Regions from separate parts of the Homo sapiens genome. Here regions 2, 3, 4 and 5 are each linked to region 1. The links are contacts of gene promoters, found by promoter capture Hi-C in blood cells and fetal thymus (Javierre and others, 2016). All regions are on one chromosome and are shown on one strand. Each heading gives the region's core, a stretch centred on a gene start or on the middle of the fragment in contact. The rest is flanking DNA. Distances are from core to core; before and after follow the strand shown.

The links. Contacts are between HindIII fragments. The CHiCAGO score rates a contact against its expected background, and 5 or more counts as called.
Region 2: a contact is called between a fragment that was not itself captured here and the fragment with the promoter of LY96 in region 1, in 1 of 17 cell types (activated CD4 T cells). The highest score is 6.0, in activated CD4 T cells.
Region 3: a fragment that was not itself captured here is called in contact with the fragment with the promoter of LY96 in region 1 in 2 of 17 cell types (activated CD4 T cells and non-activated CD4 T cells); the score reaches 10.3 in activated CD4 T cells.
Region 4: a contact is called between a fragment that was not itself captured here and the fragment with the promoter of LY96 in region 1, in 2 of 17 cell types (total B cells and activated CD4 T cells). The highest score is 6.6, in total B cells.
Region 5: a fragment that was not itself captured here is called in contact with the fragment with the promoter of LY96 in region 1 in 3 of 17 cell types (activated CD4 T cells, neutrophils and M2 macrophages); the score reaches 12.7 in activated CD4 T cells.

What each region holds. Positions count from the first base shown.
Region 1 is chr8:73,989,995-73,992,694 of GRCh38, forward strand. LY96 (lymphocyte antigen 96) reads left to right here and starts at 1,398. Exons shown (of 5, transcript NM_015364.5): 1 at 1,398-1,560. The coding sequence starts at 1,449. RefSeq lists enhancers at 1,640-1,739, 2,110-2,179. The HindIII fragment of the contact is 3,298 bases long and covers 1-1,428 here.
Region 2 is chr8:73,818,958-73,821,734 of GRCh38, forward strand. The region is part of intron 3 of UBE2W (ubiquitin conjugating enzyme E2 W); the gene reads right to left. Among named protein-coding and RNA genes, the nearest start is that of UBE2W, 59 kb to the right of the region's middle. The HindIII fragment of the contact is 5,947 bases long and covers 1-2,777 here.
Region 3 is chr8:73,785,814-73,788,583 of GRCh38, forward strand. It overlaps UBE2W (ubiquitin conjugating enzyme E2 W), which reads right to left. Exons shown (of 6, transcript NM_018299.6): 6 at 406-2,770. Among named protein-coding and RNA genes, the nearest start is that of STAU2, 40 kb to the left of the region's middle. The HindIII fragment of the contact is 955 bases long and covers 834-1,788 here.
Region 4 is chr8:73,835,446-73,838,191 of GRCh38, forward strand. The region is part of intron 1 of UBE2W (ubiquitin conjugating enzyme E2 W); the gene reads right to left. Among named protein-coding and RNA genes, the nearest start is that of UBE2W, 42 kb to the right of the region's middle. The HindIII fragment of the contact is 1,549 bases long and covers 489-2,037 here.
Region 5 is chr8:73,802,640-73,805,409 of GRCh38, forward strand. The region is part of intron 5 of UBE2W (ubiquitin conjugating enzyme E2 W); the gene reads right to left. Among named protein-coding and RNA genes, the nearest start is that of STAU2, 57 kb to the left of the region's middle. The HindIII fragment of the contact is 3,630 bases long and covers 1-2,770 here.

The sequences.
Region 1 (2,700 bases), core at 148-2,647:
TCCGCCCACCTTGACCTCCCAAAGTGCTGGGATTTACAGAGGTGAGCCACTGCGCCTGGCCTGTTTGTTTGTTTTTGAGACCGAGTCTCACTCTGTTGCCCAGGCTGGAGTGTAGTGGCCCAATCTTGGCTCACTGCAACCTCTGCCTCCTGGGTTCAAGCGATTCTCCTGCCTCAGCCTCCCGAGTAGCTGGGATTACAGGTGTGTGCCACCATGCCTGGCTAATTTTTATATTTTTAGTAGAGACGGAATTTCACCATGTTGGCCAGGCTGGTCTTGAACTCCTGACCTCAAGTGATCCACCCACCTTGGTATCCCAAAATGCTGGGATGACAGGCATGAGCCACCGTGCCCAGCTGAGAATTTGTTTTATAAAGCAGGAGGCCCCATCCTCTGGGGGCCGTGGACCAGTACCAGTCCATGGCCTGTTAGGAATCTGGTTGTGGCTTGTTAGGAAGTGGGCTGCACAGCTGGAGGTTAACAGCAGGTGAGCGAGCATTACCACCTGAGCTCCAGCTCCTGTCAGACCAGCAGCAGCATTAGATTCCCATGGGAGCAGGAACCTTGTTATGAAGTATACAAGCGAGGGATCTAGGTTGCGTGCTCCCTATAAGAATCTAATGCCTGATGTTCTGAGGTGGAACAGTTTCACCCTGAAACCATCCCTCCCCATCCCCTCAGTCCGTGGAAAAATTGTCTTCCATGAAACTGATCCCTGAGGCCAAAAATGTTGGGGACTGCTGTTATACAGAGCTGTAGGAGAGAAGAATAATGCAGAGGGAAAAGGAGTGCCTGTCTGTTGAGACTTTCAGGGGGACCTAGGGACTGGTTTTGTTACAGTTGACTGGGAATTGTCTTGTTTATTTTATTTTATTTTTCATTTAAAAAATTTTTTTGAAATGGAGTCTTGCTCTGTTGCCCAGGCTGGAGAGCAGTGGTGCCATCTTGGCTCACTGCAACCTCTGCCTCCCAGATAAAGTGAAGCTCCTGCCTCAGCCTCCTGAATAGCTGGGATTACAGGCATGCACTACCACACCTGGCTAATTTTTGTATTTTTAGTAGAGATGTGTTTCATCATGTCAGCCAGGCTGGTCTTGAACTCCTGACCTCAAGTGATCCACCTGCCTCAGCCTCCCAAAATACTGAGATTACAGGCATGAGCCACCGTGCCTGGCCAAAGTGTCTTGTTTTATTTTTAAGTCTTTGATCACTCTCATTTACAGTAAGTGTTTGAAGAGTACATTCTAAATCATTTTTCTCTCTTCCTTTACAGGAAGTGCTCAAATGTTGAGCACACACACACAAAAAAAGAGGAAACAGTTGGATAGGAACTCAGAAATCATGTGACTGATGACTAAGTTAAATCTTTTCTGCTTACTGAAAAGGAAGAGTCTGATGATTAGTTACTGATCCTCTTTGCATTTGTAAAGCTTTGGAGATATTGAATCATGTTACCATTTCTGTTTTTTTCCACCCTGTTTTCTTCCATATTTACTGAAGCTCAGAAGCAGTATTGGGTCTGCAACTCATCCGATGCAAGTATTTCATACACCTACTGTGGTAAGTAAAACCGCAAAACAAATAATTGTAGCATCAACTATTTTGAGGGTAAGTTTTCACGAGAACCGTACACTGTTGTGGCTGGAACACACGAAACATCAGTGTGTTCCAGCTGCTGTGGCGGACGCTGCCAGCAGGAAAAGCAATAGCTGGCAGCTGCCCCATGAGAATGTTCTCGACCACTCACAGAGCTTGTGAGTCTCTAAACTGTGTTGTGCTTGACCTCCAAGTGCTTCTGTTCCCTGCGTCATCTTTCTCTACCCTGAGCCCAGTTTTTGGTTCTGCCCATTTTTAATAAAACCATCTGCTTCTGAGCTTTCACCTCAGCCTTGACACTTACTAGTTCTTCTTCTTGAGATGGTAGAGCAGTCCCAGCTGCTTCCTGGAGTTGATTTCTGCTCTAAGCTGTGACTCTTGAGTGCTCTTGGAATCATCCCCCTCACTGGATGAAAGCCTGGTTCTGTCACTAGCTGTGTGACCTTAAGCAAAGTACTCCAGCCTTTTTAGCACTGAAGTGAAAGTGATTTTATAGTCTACTTGATAAGGGTGTTGTGAGGTGAAGTTTTTTAGCATAGGGTCACATAGAGACAATAATACTCTTAATTTTTTTTTGGAGTCAGCCATACCCTAATACTATTCACTGGCTGTGTCACTGTCCCCTGCCCCAGCTGCTCATTAGCAAGTGTCCTGGGATCTGAAGGCACAGTGTCAGGCCTGACAGCTGTTTTGGTTCGGTACTTTCCACCGTGCTGCTTACCATGGGTTGGCTGCCCTTTTCCACCCACTAGCAATAGCTGGGAGGTTTAAAGTGGTGCTTCCCAAAATACCAGTTCTTTGAGATTCTTTTGGGAAAATAGGATCTATGACCTAATCATCTGGGAGAGATTTACAGATGTACTTTGGGTTCTGAGAAGTTCTGCAATAAAGGCACCTGTTTAACCACATTTTCAATTTCATTTGTTGTTTGTTTGTTTGTGTTTTAGTCTGGAGTGTATGTTAACTCTCTTGAGAAACATGCTCTGCCAAATGCTAATATAAAGTGACTTTCGGGAAATTGGGATAATTGCCACATGTGAGGAGGAGACTTAGGAGTGTGGCCAGTCACACACCATGGCCCTTCTCCTGGTGGGTTGCACTGAA
Region 2 (2,777 bases), core at 266-2,765, 170 kb before region 1:
GGTCTTTATAGCAGTACAAAAATGGCCTAATACACTGACCTAAGCCTTACACTCCCCTTCCTGTTTATACACCACTCCAGGGACCCGTCCTACATATTCCAGATTTAGAGCCTTTGCATTTTGTCTTCATCTGTTCTTTCTCTCAACCCTTTCAAATGGCTTACTCCTGCACATCTTTCAGATCTCTCCTCCAATGTCACCTTCTCAGTGAAATCTTTCCCAGTGACTCTATCCAATATTTCAACACCCTCATCTCCCCTTCTGTACTTTTCCCTCACCATCTTCCATACTATATGTATTCTACTCGTTGCTTACTGTCTCTCCCCACAAGAATGCAAACTCCATATAAGCAGGGTTTTTGTTGCTGTTGCAGTTTTGGTCATCATTGAATCACCAGCACCCAGCACAGTGTCTGTCCCATGACACATCCTCAAGAAATACGGAATGAATATTTACCTATCCAAATACTAAACAGATTATAAACTGTTTAAAGGCAGGCCCAATGCCTTTTAAAACTCTGTACTCTCTCCCCTCTCTCAAGAAACAGTATTTGATACATAATTCATGCCCAATACATGTTGAATTAACCAACCATTTACCTGTATCCTAGCATAAAAAAGCAGAATATGTACATAGAAAGCTATTTTCTGTATGGCTGACAGTAAGTGTACATTAGCGGCAAGCAGTGATGAAAAGATGCCTCATCTCTGTTTCCATATTAACAGACAAATTGTTTGTTGTTATTCTTTCTTTTAAGGCAAATGACTGAGCCAAACATATTTTAGAGAGGTAACTTTTTCATTATAAGGCAGGACACAACATGAGACATAAAATATAACTGGCAGGAAGAAAAACACAACAAACCATAATGGTGTGTGACAGTCTTACTGATCTCATTTACAGGTACAAAAGCAGTAATTTCACAATGAGATTCATCTATTCTAGAAATATTTTCCAAATTCTACTCTTGTAACTAGTGATAAACTCAGTACTGTTCATTGCATAGAAAGATGAAAGACTTTTCTTTCTTTTTTTTATTAGAGATGGGGTTGCCCTACGTTGCCCAGGCTGGTCCCAAAACTCCTGGGCTGCCTTGGCCTCTCAAAGTGCTTGGATTACAGGCATGAGTACCATGCCCAGCCAGAAAGATGAAAGACTAATTTAGGTAACAAGTGCTAATGCTACAGAGTTTCATCAAATAAAATTTTGGGGGAATTTTACTGCCCTAGAGGACTGGTTCTAGCCACTTTCCCAGGGCAGTGGATCTCTGCAAAGTTTCAGTTATTGGAAAAATCTTGAAGTCTATAAGCACATCAAGCATTGATGTTTGACCCATTATAATTATGTTAAAACTATATAGATTATGTATAAATACATTTTAAAAAATTTTAACGTATTACTGGCCTCAGAGTAGTTCTGCCATTTTCCCAATCAATGGATATTAGAATATACAACCTCTATGCCATGTGAGGGACTACAGAATTAACTGATATTAAAAAGGAATCCTCACTGGGCGTGCCTATGATCCCAGTACTTTGACAGGCCGAGGCGAGCAGATCACTTTAGGACAGGAGTTCAAGACCAGCTGGACCAACATGGTGAAACCTTGTTTCTACCAAAAATACAAAAAAAAATAAGCCAGGCATGGTGGTGCATACCTGTAGTTGCAGCTACTCAGAGAGGCTGAGGTGGGAGAATGGTTTAAGCCCAGGAGGCAGAGGTTGCAGTGAGCAGAGATCACACCACTGCACTCCAGCCTGGGCAACAGAGCGAGACTCTGTCTCAAAAAAATAAAAAACAAACAAACAAACAAACAAACAAACAAAAAAACAAAATAAAAAAACCAAGCCAGGCATGGCGGCAGATGGCTGTAGTCCCTGCTACTCTGGAGGCTGAGGTGGAAGGATCACTTGAGCCCAGGAGTTGGAGGCTGCAGTGAGCTATGATTACACCACAGCATAGGTAGATGACAAAGGGAGACTCTGTCTCCGCACCCCCACCCCACCAAAAAGTAAATTAAAAAAGGAATCCTTATATTTCAAAAAGAGTGAGAATAACTGACCTAGAGCTTTCAAAGGTACCATTCATTCCACATATAATCTTTCACTTTCAGAGAGAAAATTACTACATAGATAAATAGGCATTTTTTCCACACCGGTACTCGCATCTAATTGGCAGTATGGCAAAGGAGGAAAGGAAAGACTTGGGTTTGGGTCTTGACTGTCCTATAAACTAGGTATTAAAACGTGAACAAGGCACTTCACTTCTACAAGTTTCAATTTCTTCACATATAAAATGAGGATGAATCTACCTCCCCTAACCACTTCATTAAAAGATGTTAGAAAACAAAATCAGAATGGAAGTTAAATTATGAAGTACTATATAGAAATATTACCATACAGAATGCATGCAGGTGCAGAAAAAGTTAAGTTTGGATGTGACTATACAGGGACTTGAATGCCAGGCTAAAAACTTGATTCCATAGGAAATAAACATTAAGAGGTTTTACTGTCAGGGGGTGAGGAATTCTGGGGATGGTGGAGTGAGACAGAGTGTGTGTGTGGTGGGGGGGTGGAGTGGGGTGTGGGAGTGTGTGTGTGGGGGGGGGGGGATGTGTGTGCATGTCCATGTGTGTGGTATGTAACCAGTGAGATAACTGTGCCTTCAAACAAATCTATTGGCACCGTGAAAGGATGTAGGAATTCAAAGAACTAAAGGCTACTGTAATGGTTCAAATAAAAGATAAAAACCTGGACTAGGCCAGGCATGGTGGCTCA
Region 3 (2,770 bases), core at 61-2,560, 200 kb before region 1:
GACGTGATCCACCTGCCCAAAGTACTGGGATTACAGGCGTAAGCCACTGTGCCTGGCCCATCTTTATGCATGACAGTACTTTTCACAGACATGTTTCTTTGATAATCAGAAACTATCTGCACCTCTTAAGGCTTGTCACATTTTATATGATATGCTTTTCTATTTATTATCTCCCTTATTACATATGCCCTTTGAAGATATATACCTCATCTGCCATCCTTCTTGGCATATGAAAGGCACACAATAATTATCTGCTTAATGCTGGTTTTTAAACTCTATGTCAGGTTTACCTTTATGATTTTATGGTTCCTGAGATGTATTTAGTTTAAAACAATTAATTTGTGACAAGCAATTTGCCTCAGAGATAAAGATATGAGAAACACCTATAAAAAAAGCCAAAACCAATGAAGAATGATTAATGATTTATTTAAAAGTAGTTTTCTCAAACTCTCTGGGATAGAAAGAGCAGGGTCCTGTTATACATTTTACTCAGGTGGTGGTTCTGGATATATGTTTCAAAATAGCTAGCACCTAAGTTTCTTTGAGAAAGCTAGGATAAAAATACAAGCATAACCAAGTTAATTCAATACACACTTATTAAATGCCTATGTGCTACAGGTACTGTATACTAGGTACTGTGTGCTACGTGCTGGGGACACAAACACAATTGCAACACTGTCCCTACTGTTAAAAAGTTCAGGATAGATGACTGGTAGGGAGAGAAGAAAGGACAAGGATGATAACCTTTCAGCTACCTTTGAACTAGACCTTTCAGGTAGAAACGCAGATCATGAACATTCTAGGAGGGAAGAACATTAGCAGACGGCAGTGGAAGCTTGCATTGCTACTGCTTATGAAACAAGGTTTGTGGACAGCTGAAGAGCAGCCTAGGGACACCAAGGCCAGGTAGTGAAAGGCCCTAATGGTAAGGAGACTGGAGAGAAGGTAGAAATCTCAGAGACATTTTAAAGTTACACTCAACAGGACTTGAAAAATGCAAGGAGAGGACTACTGAGTATCATTGCTTGATTAAGTTGGATGGGAATGTCATTAAATTATAACAGGATAAAAGAAATATGTTTTCATTGAGGTATGGAAACATAAAATTTTAATGTTGAATTGGCTATCTGCAGGATACAGCCATCTATATTAGGATCTTGTCTAATGACATATATTCACCCACATTAAGTCCCTGAAGGCCAGATACAGACATGAGAAGATATTTCCTACCTTAGTTGATAAACTTTCCTTATTATTTCCATAATCCACTTAACTGTAAAGGGCGTAGGGATTCCCACTTATGTATTTTGCATTATGCAGGCAAACATTAAAAATAAATCTTACAGGCAACTAAAAAAATGGTTGAAAGGGGCTCCCAACAGGACAGATAACCACAGTGGCTTTGAGCTTTGTTGTCCAAGTACACAAAACTCTTAGCTGTCTCACTTGCTTCTTCAATTTAGCTTATGTTTAATTTTGTTACGTGTTATGTTAGTGTGAAAATGAGTAAGAAATATAGGGAGGACATAAACAGAGTCACTTATCCAGGGTAGCTTAAACTAATGGAGAAAAGTCAAATCCTACTATGGAAAGTAGAAATTAAGGATTATAATAAAGGAAAAGGGCATCATCAAAGTACAAAAGATGGTTCATATATTTATCTAACCATCTACTAACATAGTTGTGTAGGACGGCAGGAACAGCTTGAGACATGATCGTTTTTATGGCAGAATGGCTGCCTCAATGAGGACTAAGGTGCTCCTGGGGCAAGCAGATCCCCTGCAGAAAAGCTTAGAATTACCAGCAGAGCATATTTAATTCCTCCTGTCAGGAATAACAGATGCTGAGATAGCCCCTTCTTGTGGTTATTTCTTTCCTCTTCTTGCAGCTTCAAGAGTCACTCATTTAAGTCATTAGTTGATCTGTTTGTATACTCCAGAAAGCATCCAGAAGTTCTTAGAGTATGCCCTTAATTGTACAACTTGAAGTTCAGGAACATCGGACTCACGATAACTCTAAGCAAGTGCCTGGGTCTCCATTTCCATCTTCACTGAAAACACTCAGTCTTTAGTTGGGACTTATTAAAACACTAAAACTAGCTACATATTACATAAAGGTGATGTGTTAAATAGATGGTTTAAGTGACTATCTTCATTCTGTTGCACTCATTTTGGAAATGGACATGTTCCTGTTTCTATAATCCTTTAAAATTCAGTCTTTTGTGAAGAGAAACTACTGTACAAATACTTTTACGTCATAAACCAAAAAGAGGTCTGGTATCTATCCCATTTAGTATTCAAGTCTACAGAAAAAATCCAATAACAACTGCTTTATTATTAAAAGTTATGAAATTCCATAAAGCAAAGTAATCTGCATTCAACTAACAAGTCTGATACATGTATTAAAAAATATATAACATAGATTTGTCTGTTTTAACATTTATATTCTATTTAAAAAGTAGTGACTTTACATATTTTGCAACTTGAGTTTATAAAATATATACATCCACCCTATTCAAATCCTCAAGCATGAGCTTTCATTCCTATTAATAAAATGCACACTCTGTAGTTCTGAATAATAAAAGGAAAATGGCACCAACTAAAACAAACAAATTCATTTTGACCTGAACATGCATTTAGTTTTTGGCTACTAATCAACCCAATAATCCATTTTACCTTGAACCTGACCACCAATTTGCCTTTACATAAACAATCTGTGGTTAACTATGAAAAGATGCATTTTCATGGTATCTGACACAATTTACCAAGTT
Region 4 (2,746 bases), core at 13-2,512, 150 kb before region 1:
AACTATGGTTTCTGTGGCCGGGTGCGATGGCTCATGCCTGTAATCCCAGTACTTTGGGAGGCCGAGGTGGGTGAATCACCTGAGGTCAGGAATTCGGGACCAGCCTGACTAATATGGTGAAAACCTGTCTCTACTAAAAATACAAAAAATCAGCTGGGCGTGGTGGCATGCGTCTGTAATCTCGGCTACTCGGGAGGCTGAGACAGGAGAATTGCTTGTACCCGGGAGGCAGAGGTTGCAGTGAGTGAGATCAAGCTGCTGCACTCCAGCCTGGGCGAGAGAGCGAGACTTTGCCTCAAAAAACAACAAAACAAAACAAAACACTATGGTTTCTGTCTTGGTAATTCTCTCTCTCAAATCACTTGCTCTGGAGGAATCAAGCTATCATGTTGAGAACAGCCTAATTCAGAGGCCTTCATAGTGAGGAACTGAAACCTCCTACCAATAACCATGTGATGATTTGTAGGCAAATCCTTCAATTCAAATCAAGCTTTCAGATGACTACTATCTTAGCCAGTACCTTACCTGCAAACTCAAGAGGGACCCTAAGCCAGAATCAAACAACTATGCCTCTGATTCCTGACCCTCGGAACTGTGAAATAACATTTGTTGTTTTAAATCGCTAAGTTTAAGGGTTTGTTACGCACTGATAGATAATACAGGACCACTGCTCCATCCTCCCCTCCATCCCAGAAGGGACTGTCATCTACTTCCTCATCAATATCACTAAGTCACAATCTAAGACATTCACTGGACCATGCTTTTTTACTGAGGGGGTGGAATTATTACATTAAAAAAAGACAATTCATGCCAGCCCCCAGCCTTCTTAGCTACTAGGCAATAAACTGCCTTGCATATTCACATCCCCTGAAATAGTGAGAGAGAAGGGCCAGCATTTGGGGGGTTAAATGAGTACATACTACATTCACAAATAAAACATTTTTTAAAAAGATACAAACAGTGAAAGGTCAAGCAATGTGTAGTATCTGTTCTGCAGATTCACAAAAACAGAATTCACCCTTAGTTGCATTCTTCCCAGAACAACAGTTCATTAGACAGGGCAGGAAAAATCCTGAAGTCGTGATTCTAAAAAACTAGTTCTAAGTTTCCCAAATGTAGACATGGAAGAGCTGAAAGAAAATGATTTAAAGAGCTGCATGTAAAGATAAATGAAAATTCACATTTTGTTTGTAAATATGAAGAACTAGTATGACCTTTTAGAGGTCACACAATCCAGAAAGCTATAATCACATGAGGCTGCATTCACCTATAAATGAAGACAAAGTATTAACAAATTTGTTAAGAAACACTAGTATTTAGGACAGAACACTTGCTAAAGGTATGACACCACTGGCTTATAAAACCATCATGGCCATACTGGCCTGCTTTCCCAAGTGGTAGGGAAAATGGCAGCTACAGATTGAGATAACTACAAAATGGAAAATAACTGCAGAATGTTAAGTACTGTAAGTAAAGCAGCAGAAACACCCAGAAACCATGGGGGAAAAGGGAGAAGAGGACATGAGAAATTAGGTTCCAGTGGTTCATAGCCAAATATTACCCTTGTCTGTCCCAAAATTGGTGAGGTATGGGAAAATTAACCACAAATATACTACTCTCCTCTGAATCTAAGACACGCCATCAATTGTAAGATGCATCATCATTTTATGTGTCACTAGGAAAGAAAAACTGCTGCCAATTAAACAATGACACACCTTCAATAACACATATCCTGATTTGAAAGATGTTAAAATATGGAAAAAGTGCATTTAAAAAAATGAAGTGGGTCGGGTGCGGTGGCTCATGCCTGTAATCCCAGCACTCTGGGAGGCCGAGGCAGGTGCATCACCTGAGGTCAGGAGTTCGAGATCAGCCTGGCCAACATAGTGAAACCCTGTCTCTACTAAAAACATAAAAATTAGCCAGGCGTGGTGGTAAGTGTCTGTAATCCCAGCTACTCAGGAGGCTGAGGCAGGAGAAATGTTTGAACCCAGAAGGCGGAGGTTCCAGTGAGCCAAGATCGTGCCACTGCACTCAAGCTTGGGCAACAGAGTGAGACTCTTGTCTTAAAAAAAAAAAAATTATGAAGTGGTATTAAAGAGTTTAATTTTCCTAAGTCTACTGAAAAATAAAACTTCGAGTATGTTTCTGAGTTAACTTTTTAAAATTGATTTAAAAATATATACTTTGTAGAGACAGGTTTTAGCTGTGCTGCCTGGCCTGGTCTCAAGTGATCCTCCCACCCCAGCCTCCCAAAGTGCTAGGATTACAGGCGCAAGCCATTGCACCCCCAGCCCTGAGTAAATTTAATAACTGATTCTTATCTTGGTATTTAACACCTACCCCAAAACACATGACTTCAGCAAATCTTTAAATATGCACTTTATTCCCAGAATTTGCATAGGAGTGCACAGACATCTATCCTCCCCAGGGCGAAAAGGCCTAAAGTTATTTGCAAAAGAATCTCATTCCAGAAGAGGCTGTTTCCTTTTTTTTATTCTTCCATCCAAAAAAGCCAGTCAGGTCCAGAATGTAAATGTTTTGAAGCATCTCAAATCTGGAGAAAACCTGAAAACTCTAGCCCTTACCTTGTGTTGGTTCAAGTCTGCAAAGCACCCAAGAATCTGAGCTCTTCTAAGATACCCAAGGTTTACAAATTCAGTAAGAAGGATTCTGATACATCTAAATACCAATAATGGTATGTAAATGATTACATACTTTCAGAACTGGCTCGGCTTTTCAGTGA
Region 5 (2,770 bases), core at 90-2,589, 190 kb before region 1:
AGCACTTTGGGAGGCTGAGGCAGGCGATCACCCTGAGGTCAGGAGTTCGAGACCAGCCTGGCCAACATGGCAAAACCCGTCTCTACTAAAAATACAAAAATTGGCCGGGTGTGGAGGCTCATGCCTGTAATCCCAGCACTTTGGGAGGCCGAGGTGGGTGGATCACGAGGTCAGGAGATCAAGACCATCCTGGCTAACACAGTGAAACCCCGTCTCTACTAAAAATACAAAAAATTAGCCGAGCGAGGTGGCGGGCGCCTGTAGTCCCAGCTACGCGGGAGGCTGAGGCAGGAGAATGGTGTGAACCCTGGGAGGTGGAGCTTGCAGTGAGCCGAAGTTGCGAAACTGCACTCCAGCCTGGGCGACAGCAAGACTCCGTCTCAAAATAAATAAATAAATAAACAAAAATAAAAATAAAAATACAAAAATCAGCTGGGCATGGTGGCGCGCCTGTAATCCCAGCTACTAGGGAGGCTGAGGGCAGGAGAATTGCTTGAACCCAGGAGGCAGAGGATGCAGTGAGCCTAGATCACGCCACTGCACTCCAGCCTGGGCAACAGAGCGAGACTTCATCTCAAAAAATAAATAAAAAATAAATAAATACAAATACTGAACCCACAAGAAATATTTTATGCAGTGAAAATATTCCTTCTCCAAAGGATTACAGATTTTCCAAGATGATTACTTACTAAATAATCCTTCCCCTTATCACTGATTTGTAATGCCTTATCATATATTCAAATGTTATATTCAACTGGGCCTAAATAAGAGGAACTGTATTTCAATGATCTGTTCTTCTATTAGTATTTTTAGTGTCCTGTCTGGTAGATTAATTCTCCATTACCTTTATGGCTCAAAATTCAAACTTTGTTCTTCTCATCTACTATTTTTTTCCCAAACTTTTCAAACACCTATCTCCCTTCCCACCCCCACAATCATTCACTGGATTTGTAATGAACTCCATCGAACCTACAGTTTGTAAAATACACGTATTTTTATTTCACAGCTCTTAAAGTTTTGCCATTTTCTTCTTCTTCTAAGTCATATGTATTTCTTATTGATATTACCCCAAATTTTCACATTTCTGTCTCTCAGGAACAGCATATTTCTTTGTTTTCTTTTTTCTTTTCTTTTTTTTTTTTTTTGAGACGGAGGCTTGCTCTGTCGCCCAGGCTGGAGTGCAGTGGCGCGATCTCCGCTCACTATGAGCTCCGCCTCCTGGGTTCATGCCATTCTCCTGACTCGGCCTCCCGAGTAACTGGGACTACAGGCGCCTGCCACCACGCCCGGCTAATTTTTTGTATTTTTAGTAGAGACAGGGTTTCACCGTGTTAGCCAGGATGGTCTCAATCTCCTGGTCTCGTGATCCACCCACCTCAGCCTCCCAAAGTGCTGGGATTACAGGCATGAGCCACCACGCCCGGCCACTTCTTTGTGTTTTCTAATTTTTAACTACTGGCATAGTTCTATTGCACTGACTCGGGTCATCTTTTCGTTCAACACCTGGGGAACTTTTAAGTTTTTAATTCACTCAATTTAGGTGAGGATACAGAAGGCTTCACACTGGATAGAAGATACGGGGAGAAGGTCATAGTTCAATTAGTTTTTGCTAGTTCTAATTTATTATCAGGTTAACATTAAAAAAAAAAAAAAACCCACACACATAAAAAACCCCAAAGGCAATACTCTTATGTATACAAAAATCACAGGGGATGGTTTTTGTTTACTTGCTTCAAAAACTACATTGAAGAATACAGACTTTTTGTTTTTAATTTCAAATAACTCTTCAGGGAAGCATTAAGGTTAGTTTAGAAATACTAGCAGCTCTGAATTATCATTACCATCCCAACAAATACAATAGAAATTTAAAATTAGAGAGTACTTTATTAATACAACTACAATCAGCAGAATCTCACTTTTTTTTTTTTAAGGGATAATGATTAGAATAGAGAGCTTTCTAATTTAATGAGGTACCCCTTACTGTGACTCCCGCCTCCTCCCGGCCATGAATACTACCAGAACTAAATGAACAAACAAGGCATCAAAACTTCTATTTCAAACAACAGACTTCCCAGTAACTAGTTCTTTTTTTTTTTTCCTTTGGAGATAGAGTCTCATTCCATCACTGTCACCCAGGCTGGAGTAGAGTAGCGTGATCTCAGCTCACTTCAACCTTCGCCACCAGGGTTCAAGTGATTCTCATGCATCAGCCTCCAGTGGAATTAGCTGCAAGCCACCACGCCCATCTAATTTTTGTACTTTTAGTAGAGACGAAGTTTCACCATGTTGACCAAGCTAGTCTTGAACTCCTGACCTCAAGTGATCTGCCCACCTCTGCCTCCCAAAGTGCTGGGATTACAGGCGTAGGCCACCATGCCTGGGCTCCCAGTAAATAGTTCTAATTTGATCTAAAGATTATTAACAACTTCTTTTCTGTAATACAATGGTAGAGTCTCCGAATGTCAAAGTAATTTTACATTTTACTTTTATGATGGCTATGATTTTGTTTGCCCCATTAAAAATCTGGTGTAGTGCTGGGCGTGGTGGCTCACGCCTGTAATCCCAGAACTTTGGGATGCCCAGGTGGGCAGATCACCTGAGGTCAGGAGTTCAAGACCAGACTCATCAACACACAGAAACCCCATCTCTACTAAAAATACAAAATTAGCTGGGTGTGGTTGCACATGCCTGTAATCTCAGCTACTTGGGAAGCTGAGGAAGGACAATCGCTTGAACCCAAGAGGCAGAGGTTGTGGTGAGCCAAGAATAA